Regions from separate parts of the Homo sapiens genome. Here regions 1, 2, 3, 4 and 6 are each linked to region 5. The links are contacts of gene promoters, found by promoter capture Hi-C in blood cells and fetal thymus (Javierre and others, 2016). All regions are on one chromosome and are shown on one strand. The core of a region is centred on a gene start or on the middle of the fragment in contact, and the rest is flanking DNA. Distances in the headings are between cores, read along the strand shown.

Evidence for each region. Contacts are between HindIII fragments. The CHiCAGO score rates a contact against its expected background, and 5 or more counts as called.
Region 1: a contact is called between a fragment that was not itself captured here and the fragment with the promoter of TMPRSS4 in region 5, in 11 of 17 cell types (activated CD4 T cells, total CD8 T cells, non-activated CD4 T cells and 8 more). The highest score is 9.9, in activated CD4 T cells.
Region 2: a contact is called between a fragment that was not itself captured here and the fragment with the promoter of TMPRSS4 in region 5, in 6 of 17 cell types (total CD8 T cells, activated CD4 T cells, naive B cells and 3 more). The highest score is 5.8, in total CD8 T cells.
Region 3: a contact is called between the fragment with the promoter of FXYD6 here and the fragment with the promoter of TMPRSS4 in region 5, in 4 of 17 cell types (activated CD4 T cells, naive CD4 T cells, non-activated CD4 T cells and 1 more). The highest score is 6.1, in activated CD4 T cells.
Region 4: a fragment that was not itself captured here is called in contact with the fragment with the promoter of TMPRSS4 in region 5 in 2 of 17 cell types (activated CD4 T cells and naive CD4 T cells); the score reaches 5.4 in activated CD4 T cells.
Region 6: a contact is called between a fragment that was not itself captured here and the fragment with the promoter of TMPRSS4 in region 5, in 1 of 17 cell types (activated CD4 T cells). The highest score is 5.2, in activated CD4 T cells.

What each region holds. Positions count from the first base shown.
Region 1 is chr11:117,849,990-117,852,689 of GRCh38, forward strand. All of the region lies in intron 1 of FXYD6-FXYD2 (FXYD6-FXYD2 readthrough), which reads right to left. All of the region lies in intron 1 of FXYD6 (FXYD domain containing ion transport regulator 6), which reads right to left. Among named protein-coding and RNA genes, the nearest start is that of FXYD6-AS1, 18 kb to the left of the region's middle. The HindIII fragment of the contact is 4,307 bases long and covers 1-2,700 here.
Region 2 is chr11:117,940,345-117,943,044 of GRCh38, forward strand. No RefSeq gene overlaps it. Among named protein-coding and RNA genes, the nearest start is that of TMPRSS13, 12 kb to the left of the region's middle. The HindIII fragment of the contact is 3,240 bases long and covers 1-2,700 here.
Region 3 is chr11:117,875,213-117,877,912 of GRCh38, forward strand. It overlaps FXYD6 (FXYD domain containing ion transport regulator 6), which reads right to left and starts at 1,446. Exons shown (of 8, transcript NM_022003.4): 1 at 1,380-1,446. It overlaps FXYD6-FXYD2 (FXYD6-FXYD2 readthrough), which reads right to left and starts at 1,446. Exons shown (of 10, transcript NM_001243598.4): 1 at 1,380-1,446. The HindIII fragment of the contact is 14,206 bases long and covers 1-2,700 here.
Region 4 is chr11:117,923,489-117,926,188 of GRCh38, forward strand. All of the region lies in intron 1 of TMPRSS13 (transmembrane serine protease 13), which reads right to left. Among named protein-coding and RNA genes, the nearest start is that of TMPRSS13, 4.6 kb to the right of the region's middle. The HindIII fragment of the contact is 4,391 bases long and covers 1-2,700 here.
Region 5 is chr11:118,075,672-118,078,371 of GRCh38, forward strand. TMPRSS4 (transmembrane serine protease 4) reads left to right here and starts at 1,407. Exons shown (of 13, transcript NM_019894.4): 1 at 1,407-1,634. The coding sequence starts at 1,632. All of the region lies in intron 1 of SMIM35 (small integral membrane protein 35), which reads right to left. RefSeq lists an enhancer at 1,262-1,857. The HindIII fragment of the contact is 4,332 bases long and covers 1-2,700 here.
Region 6 is chr11:117,897,251-117,899,950 of GRCh38, forward strand. No RefSeq gene overlaps it. Among named protein-coding and RNA genes, the nearest start is that of FXYD6-FXYD2, 22 kb to the left of the region's middle. The HindIII fragment of the contact is 2,210 bases long and covers 176-2,385 here.

The DNA of each region.
Region 1 (2,700 bases), core at 76-2,575, 230 kb before region 5:
GTCACACTAATGCCACCATTTCCTGTACATATGTCCTGTGGAATGCCACAAACCCTGACTACGCTTGCTCAGAATGAATCTGCCATTTCATTTCTCCCCACTGCCAATCACCTTTCCCTATGCCTCAGACCACCCCACTTCCCTTAACAGTAAATATCCCTAAGCCTTATCTTTGGGGAGGCGGATTTGAGAGCCGTTCTCCGGCCTCCTTGCTTGGTGGTCTTCTGAATAAATCTTTTCTCTTTTGCAAAATCTGTGTCACAGTGATTGATTTACTGAGATTTACTGAGTGTGGGCAGAACAGACCTGAAGCTGGCCGATAACATGTCTCTTAGAATATTCTAACAGATAGTTTAAAACTGTTACTGTCCTCTGAGTTGGGTCTTTTAGAATTATGTAGTGATCCTCCCTGTCTTAAATTCTATGTTACTCTCTACCTTTCTGTGTCCTTATGTGTTGTGTGTGCATCTTATAAACAGCAAAGAGATGGATTTTTGAAAAATTCTGTATTGTCAGGCTTTCTGTATTAATTGTCAAATTTACCCCATTTAATTTACTTATTGTGACTATTGATGTAGTTGGTCTGCTTTCTGCCATCTGTTTTTTCCCTATGGGAATGTGCTTGTTTCTTTTTCTTTCCTTGCCCTTTCTTTTTTCTGGATTAGTTATTTTTATTTTTATTTTTTTGGGGGGCGGTCTCACTATGTTACGTAGGCTGGTCTCGAACTCCTGGGCTCAGGTGATCTGCCTGCCTTGGCCTCCCAAAGTGCTGGGATTATAGGCATGAGCCACTGCCCCTAGCTTAGTGATTTTTTTTTTTCTTATTCCTTTTCTCCCTCTACTGGTTTAGAAATTATAGAAACTATTTTAATCTTTTAGTGGTCATCTTTGTAATTTTTCCATGTGTATTCAATGTAAAAAAGACCAAAAAAATTCAGAGTTAATACTTATAATAGTTATTAGGCAGAATACCCTCCTTGAAAATACAAAAATACAAATCATCCCCTTCCTGATACATATGCTATTATTGGAGAATATTTCAGTTCTTTTTAAAATTCTATAAAATAGATACTAATATTCGTACTTCATGAAAACTATGTTTGTTTGGATTCACCCATGTGTGTAGTAGCCAGCCTGCAAGACAGCTCCCAGTATCTCCTAGTATTCAGATCCTTGTACAGTCCCCTCCCACACTGCACCAGGGTTGGTCTGTATGACCAGGAAAATATGGCAGAAGTAATGGTATGTCACTTTCGATATGAGGTTATAAAAAGCAACACAGCCTCTTGTGTGCTCTCTCTCTCTCTCCCTCCCTCTCGGATTGCTTGTTCTGAGTCAAGCTAGCTGCCATGTCTTAAGGATATTCAGGCACCCCTGTGGAGAGGCCCATGTGGTGGCCTCACTCCAAAAGCCTGCTAAGAAATACAGCCTGCCATGAACCACATAAGTGAGCTTGGAAACAGATCTTCCGGCTTCATGAAAGACCTTGAGCCAGAACCACCCACTGAAGATTCTCCCTGATTCCATACCCTCAGAAACTGTGTGAAATATCAAACGTTTGCTGTTTTAGGCTGCTGAGTTTGGAAGTAATTTGCTATGCAGCAATAGATAATGAATTTACAACATATGTACTGATTTGTTCACCATTGTTTTTGAACGTTAGTCATCCTTCATGCCATTTTCTTTATTCCTAAAGAACATCTTTCAAAATTTTCTTTAATGAAGATCTGTTCGTTAGAAACTCTGTTTCTGTTTATTTGGAAATGTTTTCATTTCACCTTTATGGCAAGAGACCCTACGGCGATCCCCAGTCATTCCAGCCTTCTAGTGTTCAATGCTTTGAGTAATCTCTTTCCTTTGAATACTGGCAGGAGCTGCAACACACTTTTAACCAACAGAATGTGGCAAAAGTGGCAAAAGGACAGCTCTCAGATGATGGTGTTATATCATATAAGACTCAATCTTGCAGGCTGGAGCTCGAGAATTTTCTCCCTTGCTGGCTTGAAAAAGCAAGCTGCTATGTCATGAGACAGGCTACGGAGAGAAGCACAGGATAAGGAATTGTGGGAAGCCTCTAGCAGCTGACAGCTGCCCCTGGCCAGAAGCCAGCAAGAAGATGGGAACCTCAGTTCTTCTACCACAAGGAGATGAATACTGCCAGCAACCTGAGGGAGTCTGGAGGCAGATCTTTCCCCAGTCAATTCTCTTATCAGACCACAACCTTAGCCAGCACCTAGACTGTAGTTCGGTATGATGCTGAAGCAGAAAATTCAGCTAAGCTGTGCCAGACCTCTGACCTAAAGAAACCATTACATAATAAACATGTGTTGCTTTAAGCTGCTGGGTCTGTGATCGTTTGTTATGCAGCAATAGAAAACTAATACAATCCTAACCTTGAAAGGTAGTTTGGCTATGTACACAATTCTAGGCTGATAATTATTTTTGCTCTGCACTTTTAAGATGTTATTCCACTGCTATCTGGCTTCCATGATTGCTGTTGAGAAGTCTGCTGCTTATATCATCATTCCTTTATAGATGTCCTATCTTTCTTCTCTGCCTCCTTTTATTTTCTTCTTTTTGTGTTTGCTGTTGTGGGTTTCATCACAAGTCTGAAACACAACATAGAACTGATTGTCGTGAGTTTCATCAGACTTGAAAGTCCTTTACCTATAGGTTCATCCTTTTCATCGTTATGAAAAA
Region 2 (2,700 bases), core at 126-2,625, 140 kb before region 5:
GATGTATTTCATTCCATTTGGACAGTATTATTATCTGAATTAATTGCCAAAATTTAAAAATCCAAAGAAGTCTGGTCTGCCTGCTAACATTGACCAGTACTTTGCCTATACCATGCACTCAATAAATACTTACTAATTGATTGATAGAATTCTTTTGCATCCCCTCAGAAGATCTAGCACAAATCTAGGCAATCAGTTATTCAATAAATAAGCCTTTATTGAATCTCTACTATGTACCAAACAATAGTTGCTTAATAACTTAATTGCTTCTTGTGGTCTTCTCATCACAAAGAAAAATTACTGTGTCCTATAAAATAACCCTAATTGAATTAATCACAGCTCTACTCTCATGAGATGGTTCTTACATCACACATACATTCTTCAAAGTTAACTAGAAGGAGAGCCTGGATTTCTAGAATTATAGATTTAAGGAGTATGGGCAATGGATGGTTGAGACCTTGGTCTCTGAGTCAGGCAGACCTGGATTTGAATACAGGCTCCACTACATGGAAGGCCTGTGACTTGGAGCAAATAATTGACTTCTCAATCCTCCATGTCCTCCTCTGTAATCCAGGCAGGAGAACAGGATCTGCCGTATAGGGATGTGGGTATGAAATGAGATCGTGTGGGTAGAGCCGTCACACAGAGTAAGTGTGCAGCGGATATTAACAATCGGACGCGCAGAACATGGGAACTGGAAGGAATTTCAGAGATCCTCTCTTCTGAGCAGTTGTTCCCTTAAACTTCTGATTCCAGAGCAGCCCTCTGACATCTTGCGGCAGGGTATTTGAGAGGCCAGGATTCTAAAGACCCACTTCCTGTGCTTGGTCTGTCCTCCTAGGCCTCAGCCCATGCCTCAGAGTCTGAGGCTGCCCCAGGCTCCTTTGGTTCAACACTGAACCACAGGCTGTGGCATAGGAGTGAGTTCAGAGCCTCAAGGCTAACCCCAAGTTTAACCAGCCAACCATCTTCAGCCCTGCCTGGACCCACCTGGGGCCCACTTGCTCTAGGTTCCAGTTTTGGGATGAGGAGTAAGGAAGACCAGAGAGTCCTCCTGTGCCACCACCTGATCCTCTGCTCAGCACCAGGTGCCCTGGCTGTCCACTCACCCCCAGTGCCTGGCAGAGCCAGTTCTCCCAGTCTGCACTGGGCCAGGGCTGGTGTGAGGCAGAGCAGCTGAGTCACGGCCCCTCGTTCAGTTTAATTACCTATGTGTGCAGATGACACACACAGAGGGGCTAACGAGGGTAATTACTCCGGGTGGGGTGAGCCCAGCTGACTAAGAATGCTTTGTTCTAGATGCAGAGAGCTGGGAGAACATTGCCAGAAGTGCTTCCTGAGCCTGGACCTTGTCTGGCCCTCCAAGACCCCTTCCCACCATCTCCCAGCACTTCCAAAGGCCAGGGAGCTGAGGTCCTAGACGGGGAGGGTGCATGTTCACAAATAGTATGAGTTGCCACCTGTCAATTGTGCATTTCTAGGTCCAGAGACCAGCTCATGGGACAAGGGCCACCTGCTGTGTCTCCTCTAGAGCCAGGAGGCTATCGGAAGGGGCAGATCCATTCATTCATTTCACCATAAAATTTTAACAGCTGTATTGAGATAGAATTTACATACCATACTGTTCACCCATTTAAAGTATACAATTAGATGGTTTTTGGTATATTCAGGGTTGTGTAAGATTGACCATCACAATAAACGTTAGAACATTTTCATCATTCCCAAAAGAAATACCCTACTCTTTAGCACTTACTTCCCCAGCTTCCCTCCCCCAAGCCCTAAGGCAACCACGAATCTACTTTCTGTGCCTGTAGATGTGTCTATTCTGGTCATTTCCTGTAAGTGGACTCATGCAGTGTGTGGTCTTCTGTGGCTGGCTCCTTTCATTCATCATCATATTTTCAAGGTCCATCTGCGCTGTGGCTTATGTTGGGACTCAGAAAACAACACCTCAAAATGAAGACCTCAGAAACAAAAGTTTTTCTCTGACCTGCTCCTGCCCTCCTGTTTCTCAGTCCCATTCTCCCCCGAGGCCAGCCGTTGAGACTGGAATCCCTCTTTTCCAAGGTGGGTCATAGAAACCCAAACTCCTTTTCTCCAAAGCCAGCCATAAAACCTAAAAGTATCAATCTCTCTCCCCAACTCCACACCGCCAGTGTAAAAACTGGCCATAAAACATGATGTGACCTACCTTACCTGACTGTAGTTCATTAGACCCTCATACCCAGAAGGAAGGAACACATGCTCAAAGGGGTCAACAAAAATCTAGATGGACAGCCTTGCTGGATTTCCATACTCACTCTGTTAGCATTAGATCAGACCCTTTTTGTCCAATCGTATTTCTCCACACAGCTGTCTATACTTTGTTGAACCTAAGCATAAAAATGGACAACTTCCCCTGTATCTTTGGGTCTTCATTCTGAAAGCTCCTGTGTCACCTAAAACTATGGTCAAATAAATTTATGTACCTTTTCTCCTATTAATCTGCCTTATGTGAGTGATTTTCAACAAAACTTCAGAGGGTGAAGCAGAATTTTTCCCTTGGACTTGACGCTTGTATCAGTACTTCATTTCTTTGTATTGTGAATAACTGTGGATAACACTCCATTGTGTGGATATGCCACATTTTATTTATCTATTCATCAGGTGATAGCCGTTTGAATTGTTTCCCCTTTTGGGCTATCATGAATAATGGTGCTA
Region 3 (2,700 bases), core at 196-2,695, 200 kb before region 5:
TAGGTATGATGTATATGTATGTGTGGTGTGAGTGTGAGGGTGTGTTGATTGCGTAGTGTGGTATATGTCTGTATGTGTTTGTGGTGTTGGTGATGTGCAGTGTGTGTGAAGTGGGTGGTGTGAGTAAGGGGCCACTGCAATTGGGTGTAGGAGCCAGATATCTAGGTCTCCTAGCCAGGGATAACCAGTATCTAGGCAACCATACTGGGGGGAGGGGAGGAGATATGGAGGTGAGGAATGGGCAGGAGAAAGAGGGAGGCTGAGAAATGGAGGAGTTTCCATGGCAACGACCAGGCAAGTCACGTGCAAAAGGCTAAGTTGCGGACGTAGACATACACATCCATAATATGAGGGTGGCTGGATCCCCAAAGGGGGCTCCTTTCAGAGAGGGCCTGAGATGCCCACTGATCCATCTTCAAAGCTGGAAATCTTAGCCCAGCCAGACAGCACGAAGCCACAGAGACAAAGGAAGTAGTGGCAGAGAGCACACTGGTGGGGAGAAGCCTCCAGTAGCCACGGTCCCGCGAGCGTGCAGGCTTGCAGCAGGTGACGCGGCAGACCCATGTTTCCAGCGAGGCTGCTCCCAGCTCCCACCCTCGGGTGCCTCCTCTACCAGCCACCACTTGTAAGAGCCAGAAGCCAGCGCTGGGAGCTCCAGGCTGCACACCCAACTCTCCACGGAAGCCCGGGAGACACAATAGGGGAGGCTCTGCCAGGGCCAGCCCTGCTGGGGAAAGGGGGCAATGGCGGACCCCAGGGCCCCCCGGAAAGGAAACAGGATTGGATGGATAAGACAAGAAGGAGGGAAAAAATGATGCACTCTCATGAATCCCCGAGCGCTAGAATCCTTCTTTCCCTGCGCCCCCATCCTGTGCCCACTGCCCAGCCCCACCTTCCCCAAGCACCAAACCAGCAAGTTCCATTTTGTGTCGCTCATAAGTCCACACTCACACCCAGCCACACGCCCTCGTCCGTAATTCCCCACGCTCCACCAAGTGTCCACAGCTTCCAAGTAACAAAGGGAAAACTCCTCATGGATAAAGGGTGGGCGCAGCCCTTTCCCCTTCTCCTGAAAACCCTGACCCCAAGCTCAAGGCAGCACCGAGAGCAATTCCCAGCCACCAGCGTCACCCCCAGCGCCACAGCCTGCCTCCCCTAGAGGCTCCTCTCTCTTCCGACGCCGATCTCCTTGTTTACATCCCCAGCCCGGTTTCCCGCTGCCCAGGCGGGGACCGCGGCGCAGCTGACCGCGGAGGACCGCACACACCCACTGAACACACAAAACCCGGCGCTCCCGGCGCTCCAGAGATCGGTCCCCACCGAGCCTCGCCCCTCCTCGGAAAAAGGAGCCAACTTTGCCCACCTCCCCAGCCGCCTACCTGCACAGCCGGTCCCCTCCGAGACTCCCAGGAGGACCCGCCGAGTCCCGAGGAGCCTGGGAGTGGCGGGGCTGGGGGCAGGGCGGTGGGTGAGGCTTGAGCTGCTTTCCCGCCTCCCCTCCTCCTAGGAGTCGGGCTGGCTGGGAGGCGCGTCCTGCGGGGGCGGGGGGGGGGCTCGCTCGGGGCTGGGCTCGGGGACAGCCCACTCCGTGCTGCCGTCCGCTGGCTTCTGGGTAGCGGCCGCGCGCAGACCCCCTCTCCTCCTCTCCCTGTCCGTCCTCCCGCTCTGTGCTCGCGCGCGTCCTCTGCTCCTCTCTCCTCTCGAGGGGCGGAGAGATTTTTCCAAAGGGCAGTCAAGCTCCGAGAAGCAACAGGAGACTGCCGCCGAGGAGGCGTGCAAGCGCCGGAGCGGATTTGCCATCAGCTGTTGCTTTTCGGTTTCCCTCTGGTTAGGGTGGGAAGGGAGCAAGACAGGCACAATGACAGACCTGGTGTCTCTCTGCAATAGTAAACCCCGAGGAACGGAAAAATAGGAGAAAATAACCCAGCACCAGACACAGCAGCCCACGTTAATTGGGAGCCTTGGTAATTAAGGGGAATGTGCACCAAAAGCATGAATGGCTGTGTCGTGGGCGCAGGAGCCAGCTCCAGTTGTAGTTGTCATTTTCAGCTAGAGCCAGGTGGGGAGCTGGGGGGATGGTCCTTACCTGAACCATAGATCTGCTGCCTTGAACCCCCTTTTCAAGCCCCATCCACCTCTGGCCCTGCCAGGAGCAGTACCACCCCGTCCTCAGCCCAGTCCCCAAGAGTCAAAATTCATGATGACGAACTTTGAATGTGAAGATGTAAATAAATCCTGGCTCGGCAACCCTGCCTGTGACGCGACTTGGAGCATATCTCTGCACTCAGCTCCTGAGTCTATTTCCTCACGTGGGAAAATGGTGATTAGAGACTGACCCCATGGGAGGCTTAGCTCATAGTGAGTGCTCAAGAAATTGGCTCTTACTATTAGGGGCAGAGCTTGTAGGAAGGGGCAGAGGCCAGGCACAAGTGTCAGTAGCCAGGAGCCATGCTGAGATGGAGGCTGTCCAGCCTCAGTCAAGGTGTGTGTATGGCCGAGCCGGGTGGAGGGAGGAGCTACTGAGAAAGGCTGTGATTGTCCAAGCCTAGGTAGGGCCACGGAGAGTTCCTTACAAACCCCAAGCCGGGGATGATGGGTACTGCTAGGAAGAAACCTAGCCCTGCCTCTGCTGCCCTCAGTTCTGGGCCTGTTTTCTCATTTGGGAAAATAGGGAGATGGACTAGATGATCCTGAGGTCTC
Region 4 (2,700 bases), core at 41-2,540, 150 kb before region 5:
TGTGGATCGAGCCCCAGGCTCTGCATAATGAGAGTTCTTCAGCCATAAGCAGCAGCCTGAACTTGGGAAATATGCACTTCAGGTCCCCCAGAGCCTGGGCTTGCAGTGTGAACCACCCTATAAAAAGCTCTCCCGCAATTGAACAATGAGAACACTTGGACACAGGATGGGGAACATCACACACCAGGGCCTGTCGGGGAGTGGGGAGACGGGGGAGGGATAGCATTAGGAGAAATACCTAATGTAAAGGACGAGTTAATGGGTGCAGCACACCAACACGGCACATGTATACATATGTAACAAACCTGCACGTTGTGCACATGTACCCTAGAACTTAAAGTATAATAATTAAAAAAAAAAAAAAAAAAGCTCTCCTTCTAGTCCTGAAGAATGTCCAGCAGGGAGCAGTAGCTGCTTCATGGCCTGAGGGCGGGTGCATCAGGGCCCGTTTCAGTCCAGTTTAAGCCAATTGGGCCTCCCTCCTCAGCCCTGGGCCATCCCTTCGTAAAGCTACCACCCAGGGTTGGGCATATCACAGGCTGTCAGAGTTGCAAAGATTCTGAAAACCCTCTAAGCTGGGCGTGGTGGCGCCGGCCTGTAGTCCCAGCTACTTGGGAGGCTGAGGTGGGAAAATGGCTTGAGGCCAGAAGCTGAAGACCAACCTAGGCAACATAGCAAGACCCCATCTCAAAGAAAAGAAAAGAAAAGAAAAGAAAACCTACCCAAGCCCTTTATACTATTGTTGAGGCGATGAAGGCCCAGAAAGGCTGTGTGACTTGCTCACGGACACACAGCCAGGTGGGGACGGTGCCAATTCTAGAACCATGATCTTCTGGCCCCCATCCTTGGGCTGTTACACAACACTCTGCTCTTCCCCTCTCTGTCCCTTACCAGCCTCCATGAGAAAGGACCCTTCCCAGACAGAGGCCCCCGTGGCAGCGTCCCTTTTCCAGTGACCCTGGGCATCAAGGGCGCCCATAGGGTGGGCACGGGCAGACCATGGGCCAACAACCCAGCACTCTGGGCTAGGCAGGAAGAAAAACCCCTCACTAAACCCTTCTGGAAGCACTGGCGGCACTGAGAAAGATCAGGATCTCCCTTTGACAGAGCCTAAAAACCCTCCTTGCCTGTTGGGAACCTGGGGAGCCCTGGGGTTGTGGCAGGGGAGGCCTGAACCCTTCCCAGCGAGGGCCCGGCTGGACTGGGTGACTTTTTTCCCTTTCTCACGGCTAGACCCAGGCTTCACTGTACCTCCAGGTTCCCAAGGCCCTTTCCTACTCTCCCCCTCCCCGAACCCAGAGAAACCCCACAAATACAGGCTCTCCTCAGCACACAGGCATCTTCCCCACCACCTCCTCACCCAGCACCAGCATCTCCAGCACACACGCAGTATACAGCTCAGGGACTTGGGTCAGCCCTTGAGGCAGACTGAACTCTGGAAGGGGCCAGAGCTGCAGGGTCTGCCTCGCCCTGGGGGTGGGGGGCACGGGGAGCCTCGCTTCTGCTCCTAGGCCGCCGTGTGACCTTGGGGACAGTCACATCCTTCTCTGGGCCTCAGCTCCCTCTTCAATAAATTAAGGGTGTTGGACAATCAGCAGTTTTCAAACAGGGTTCCACAGAGCATTTCAGTTTCCGTGGAGGTGCCTTGCAGACCAGCTGGTGGGGACTGTGGTGGGCTCTGAGCCCTTACCCCACCTCAACAGAGAAGACCGACCTTTCAGTTTCATACAGCGGAGTCAACATAACATTCATTTGAACAAAAGAGGCAGCTGCTACAACGAACTTGAAAGGGACTGGCCAGAGTAAGTGCTGAAGTCCCTTCTAGTTTCCGATGCCTCCTGTGCACATGAAAAAGCTCAAGGAATCCCTGTTAGACCAGAATCAAGACGCCTCCTTGTTCATTCATTCGTTCATTCACTCATTCATTCATTCATTTATCAAATGCTGTAAAGAACATGGAGTGCCCACTATTGCCCAGCAAATAATGTTTGATTGCCCAGGAACTTGCTGCCTCAATGTTTCCCTGTGTCTGTGCCTTCTCTTGCTGCCAGTCCTAGGGTAGTGACACACTCAGGGCTGGTACATAATGGGGGCCCCTCTAAAGTTTTGGGTATTGCTTCCCTCCTAGGGAAACCAACCCCCATCTGGTGCTGTCAAGGCCTCCACTTGACGGCTAAAGCCAGGGTTCCCTGTGGTGGCTTCCCTCATGCCTGCACCACCAGTGCCCTGCCCACTTGGCCAGGCACATCCACCCTTGTTGTTGCTATACCAAGAGGAATCTGTTCTGCCAAAACAAGACACTTAAGCTAAGTGGCCATTGTTACATCAGTTGTCCTTCCCACCCAGCTCCCCAGCCCAGGGCCCAATACACACACTCCCGCACGCTTACGCTCACATCTGCCAAGTCTCAGGGGACAATGCAGGGGAAATCGAGGTGGCTGTGCCAAAGGAAGTCTGCTCCTCACCAATGACAACATGAAACAGAGGACAAGGTGAGGGCTGCACACCTGCAGGGGCACAGGGCAGGTACCAGGGTCCTTGGAGGACGAGGTGAAGGCTGCACACCTGCAGGGGCATAGGGCAGGTGCCAGGGTCCTTGGAGGACGAGGTGAGGGATGCACACCTGCAGAGGCATAGGGCAGGTGCCAGGGTCCTTGGAGGACGAGGTGAGGGCTACACACCTGCAGGGGCATAGGGCAG
Region 5 (2,700 bases), core at 157-2,656:
GTTATCAACAGAAGGACAAATACACACGTCTAACCCAGGCTGGTCTCCTGGGAGGGTCAGGTCTGAGAAATGGAAGGAGATCTGGATTCATATGGAACCAGACACTAATTCATTATGTGACTTTGGGTCATTGACTTTGCCTCTCTGGAATTTAGTTTTGTCGCCCACAGAATGGGGGAACAATGTGGACAATTATCCAAGTCTCTCCCAGCAAAATATCTGTGGCTGTAAGGTTTCACCTTGCACATCCCCTGGCCAGGGGGCAGCTCCAGCTATCAGGATGTGGCAGAACGTGAATCAGAAATGATCCTGTGGGGCTGGGTGCGGTGGCTCACGCCATAATCACAGCACTTTGGGAGGCTGAGGCAGGTGGATCAGTTGAAGCCAGGTGTTTGAGACCAGCCTGGCCAACATGGCAAAACCCCATCTCTACTAAAAATACAAATTAGCCAGGCATGGTGGCGCACAACACCTGTAATCCCAGCAGCTACTTGGGAGGCTGAGGCAGGAGAATCACTTGAACCTGGGAGGTGGAGGTTGCAGTGAGCCAAGATCGCGCCACTGCACTCCAGCCTGGGCAACAGAGACTCTGTCTCAAAATAAAATAAAATACAAAAACACAAAACTTAGCTGGGTGTGGTGGCAGGTGGCTGTAGTCCCAGCTACTCGAGAGGCTGGAGCACGAGAATTGCTTGAACCTAGGAGGCGGAGGTTGCAGTGAGCTGAGATTGCGCCCCTGCACTCCAGCCTGGGGGACAGAGAGAGACCCTGTCTTAAAAAAAGAAAAGAAAAAAAGAAAGAAAGAAAGAAGGAAATGACTCCGTGGACGAGGAGACGTGGGCTCTAGCCAGAGCACCAATAGTGATTTTCAGAATATTGAACGGCTGCTGAGGCAGGGGCAGGAAGCACTAGTACATTGGCTCTGTGCAGGACAGCTTCACTTCTGGGATCCAGGGAAAGGGGGTACATCTTACCTCCCTAAGAGAAGAAACTCCCTCCTTCTCTGTGGACTTTCCAATCCTATTGCTCCACACCTGGCAATGATCTCTTTGTACTGAGCTGCAAACCCTGTCGCCCAACCCCCAGACCACTCCAACTTCCCACAACCCCAAACCAAAGCACCCACACAGTGAGAAGTCATGCACCTAGAAGGTAGGGGGAGGGGGGGCGGAAACTTCTGGCATCACCCTCAGCCAACACCCAGTTGGGTGGAAGTCATTCAGGCGGGAAGGCTTTTGTTACGCCTTAGGTGTGTCACCTGTTCTGAGGCCGAAGGTCCCATGAATGACTTCAGGTGTTGTTCCAGCCCCTAAGATAGGTGTCAGGTTACAAGACACATAATCATTCCAGTTTGGCAACTTCACTTGTAGGGCTGTTTTAATCAAGCTGCCCAAAGTCCCCCAATCACTCCTGGAATACACAGAGAGAGGCAGCAGCTTGCTCAGCGGACAAGGATGCTGGGCGTGAGGGACCAAGGCCTGCCCTGCACTCGGGCCTCCTCCAGCCAGTGCTGACCAGGGACTTCTGACCTGCTGGCCAGCCAGGACCTGTGTGGGGAGGCCCTCCTGCTGCCTTGGGGTGACAATCTCAGCTCCAGGCTACAGGGAGACCGGGAGGATCACAGAGCCAGCATGGTGAGTGTGGGGCCCTCTGCTCCCAAGACACAGGAAGGGTGGGTCTCCCCATGTAAGGCCCTTCAAGCAGCCTGAGCATCCATCAGCTGAGAATTCTGTGACACCTTCTAGGTTAAAAAAAGAGGCCACACCCAAATCCCCTCACACCCCAGCCCGGTACACGTCTCATACCCACCTGCCTTCCTCTCTTCCTCCATTGCCATGGTCCTTGGACCAGCTCACCTAAGAAGCTGAGCACAGAGCCAGGGCTGTCCTTCCCGACTATTCTTTCCTGAATCCTGCATGTTCTTTTGCCCAATGTCTCCAGGTCTGTTGGTTAGAGGTTGGCACTATTTTTCCAAGGCAGGGGGCTGTTCTGATGCCACGGTTGCCCTCTGCCACTCCCTGGGGAAACTGATTCCTTTTCTTTTTAAAGAAAAGTGTAGACTGGGTGCAGTGGCTCACGCCTGTAGTCCCAGCACTTTGCGAGGCTGAGGCAGACAGATCTCTCGAGGTCAGGAGTTTGAGACCAGCCTGGCCAGTATGGTGAAACCCCATCCGTACTAAAAATACAAAAAATTAGCCAGGCGTGGTGGCAGGTGCCTGTAATCCCAGCTACTTGGGAGGCTGAGGCAGGAGAATCGCTTGAACTTGGGAGGCGGAGGTTGTGGTGAGCCAAGATTGTGCCATTGCACTCCAACCTGGGCAACAAGAGTGAAACTCCGTCTCAAAAAAAAAAAAAAAAAAAAAAAAAAAAAAAGAAAGAAGGAAAAGAAAACAGTGCAGAGATGCCTCCAAACAATCTAGGGTGTTTGTGGTCATCTTTTACTTGGTCTCTTTTCATGCCCTCACCCTCTCTCCTCCTCCTCTGAATACCTGGAGCGTCTTCGCTGTCTTGGGGCAAAGAGAATCAACCCTATCTTTCAAGGAGGACAGCTGAGGGCCAGGGAGGGGAAGAGATAATAACTGGGTCTGAGGAGGAACCCAGGGGTCTTCCTTCTCCAGTCCTTGGCCAAGAGGCAGCAATTGCCCAGCCACCAAAGTGAAAGGGAAGGGAAGAGAGGAAAGGAGAAGCCACTGTCCAAGG
Region 6 (2,700 bases), core at 31-2,530, 180 kb before region 5:
AGAGAGAGCGGGGTGAGCTCCTCTAAGTCATGGAGCTCCACGACTTAGAGGGACCACCAGCTGGGAATATCCACCTGGCCTAGGTGGTAGCATCACCTCCATGGAGGATCAGGTCATTGCTAAAAGCCTAGGAACAAAGTTTATGGAGAGACATGGCAAATTTCCTAGGACTCGAAGCTTTATCCAAAATTCTCTCTCCTATGTCATGTGTTTGATGAAGCGCCTGAGGGTGAAGGATCTGACCCTTTCGCTGCGAATTCAACATATGCAGAGAGGTCATGATATGCTAATCACTTTGCCCTGCATGTTTATATGGATCGTACCATTTAATCTCACAACGAATGTAGGCCAGATACACCCATTTTACATATGAAGAAACAGAGAGGATGGTTTGTCTAAGACCACATAGCTGAGTAAGTAGTAGAGTTGGAATTTGTACCTCCAGGTACTTTGATTCCAACTCCAGAGCTCTCTCTGCTACAACACAGCGTAATTAGAAGGAATTATTCAAAGCAGATTCCCAGCTCCTTCCTTCTATGAAAAGTAGACAACCTTTTCTGGGACTCAGGGCTTGGACAGAGAAGGCCTCCTATTATGTCCACCTCCCATGTCCCATTGGCAGGAGTGAGCCGTGGAGGACCATAGACCAGGCTATGCCCTCACCTTTCTCAGAGGTCTCAAGACCTCCTGTCCCAGAAGGTCCAGGGCTGTTTATCTCCTGAGCACAGTCCTCCCTGTTCTCTGGGAGGACCCATTGTAAGATCGGTACAGCACGCTTACTTACTGGACTGGGTGGCAGCCTTCCTAGGGACAGGAAGCCTGGGCCAGTGCACAGGAGACGGGGAATGAATGGCATGTTCCTTTCAGAGCCATCCACCTACATCAAGGAGACTTGGAGGTGTCCTGGGTGACAGCTTGTTGTGACTTGACAGGGCATCCCAGAAACCATCCACTTGGGACCGGGGTGGAGGAGGGCCTCCTCCCACTCATGATGTACTTGTCCAAGTTACCAGAAACCACATGGTCTAAGCCTCTGGTCATGTGACACTCTGATGGGTGCGCCTAGCCTTCTCTGGGGAGTTGTCTCACCCTGACACTCTTGGAAAGATACGCAGAGCCAGAGAGCAGAGCCTATGAGGTCCCACTTGGGAGGATTCCACCTGACTCTGGTGCAGAGTGTAAAAGAGCAGCTGAATGCAGAGTGTAAAAAAGCAGCTGCATGTCAGAGCCTGGATTCAAATCCACCTCTGCCATGCAGCAGTCATGTAGTTTGGGAGGCTTATTTCACTTTGCTTGGCCTTTGTTTCCTCATCTGTAAATTAGGAATGAAGACAATGTCCACTTCACGGGATTCTTGTGCTCACAGGAGATAATATACATCAGGTGTCCAGCACAGCATGTGGCACATAGCAAACGTTTAGCAAATGCTGGCTATTATTATCATTATCCTCATCATGGCCATCACGGGGACTTCACATGTGTGTCCCCATGTCCACCCAATTGCATCAGGACCACAGCTAAGTGATTATGGGGAACAATGATCCCTGGGAATCTAACCAAAGCCCAGAGGCAGCTGGAGCACCTGCTAGGCTGTAAGTGGCTCCTTCTGTAAAGAGCCATCATCTCTCCCTGCAATAGCCTCCCCCTTCTCCTGCCCAGCACACTCACTTGGCACTCCTTTCCCAGATAAATTCTATGGAAATTCAGCAGTCAATAGAGTTGACAAAGCCAGAAGGCTTGGCTGGTACTTGGAGGAGCCTAGGCTCCAGGGACATAGGACAATGTCACTGCAACCACCTCCCTGCCCAAAACACACACACAGTTCCCTGGAGATTCTGCGCCAGTTTAGAATGCCCTATCACCCCCCGCCATCCCTAATTTTGGTAGCCTCTATAGATATCCTGGGCCAAAGGAATGTATTTTTCTTTTCCCATCCAGATCCTGCTTTTTCTCTAACTTATTTCCCTGCCCCCCTCCCATACCCTTACATCCCTGCCAGTCAATTTATGTCCTAGGAATGCCCTGAGAGAGAAAGGAAAGTGTCTGCTTTCTAAGGGGAAAGAAACAGAAATGGCCTAAGCTCTAAGTTTCTGCCCAGGCTGGGCTTCTGAGGATGCAGCCACCTTCCTATGGTGAGTGGAGATGGCTGGTTGTCCTCTGAAATGAGTGCTGGCTCCTGCAGGGGGATCTGCCAAGGACTGCCTTTCCCAGCCCAATTTTGTCTAGGTGGTGCCACATGTCACATATGACATGTCTGTACCCATAAAATGTCAGTGGAAATGACTTCCGGGCTAGAGCACTTAAGGAGTGAATGAGTCTTTTTTATATTTTCTTTCTGGCTAGAAGTAGACAACAATGTGGATGACAAACTCCCAAGATGGAAAAAGCTTGTGGAAGAAAGTCTCCCTCTGATCAGAACACCCTTACAGGATTGTTGCATGGATGCAAAATAAACTTCAATTAGGTTAAACCATTGAAATTGTCAGAAACTGTAGGATCTATTACAGTCAGTGTCACCCCTCCTAGGAATATAGTAAGCGTGGCACCTGCCACCTCCCCTGTACCTTCTTGTGCAGATAGAGCAAGAAAGGAATCAAAAGAAGGACTTTCCCTGGCATTGATATGAAAGACTAAAGCAATCAAGTTCAGGGTATCCAGAGGCTGGATGCTTGTGGGGAAACCTGAAGAATTCTGTGCTTG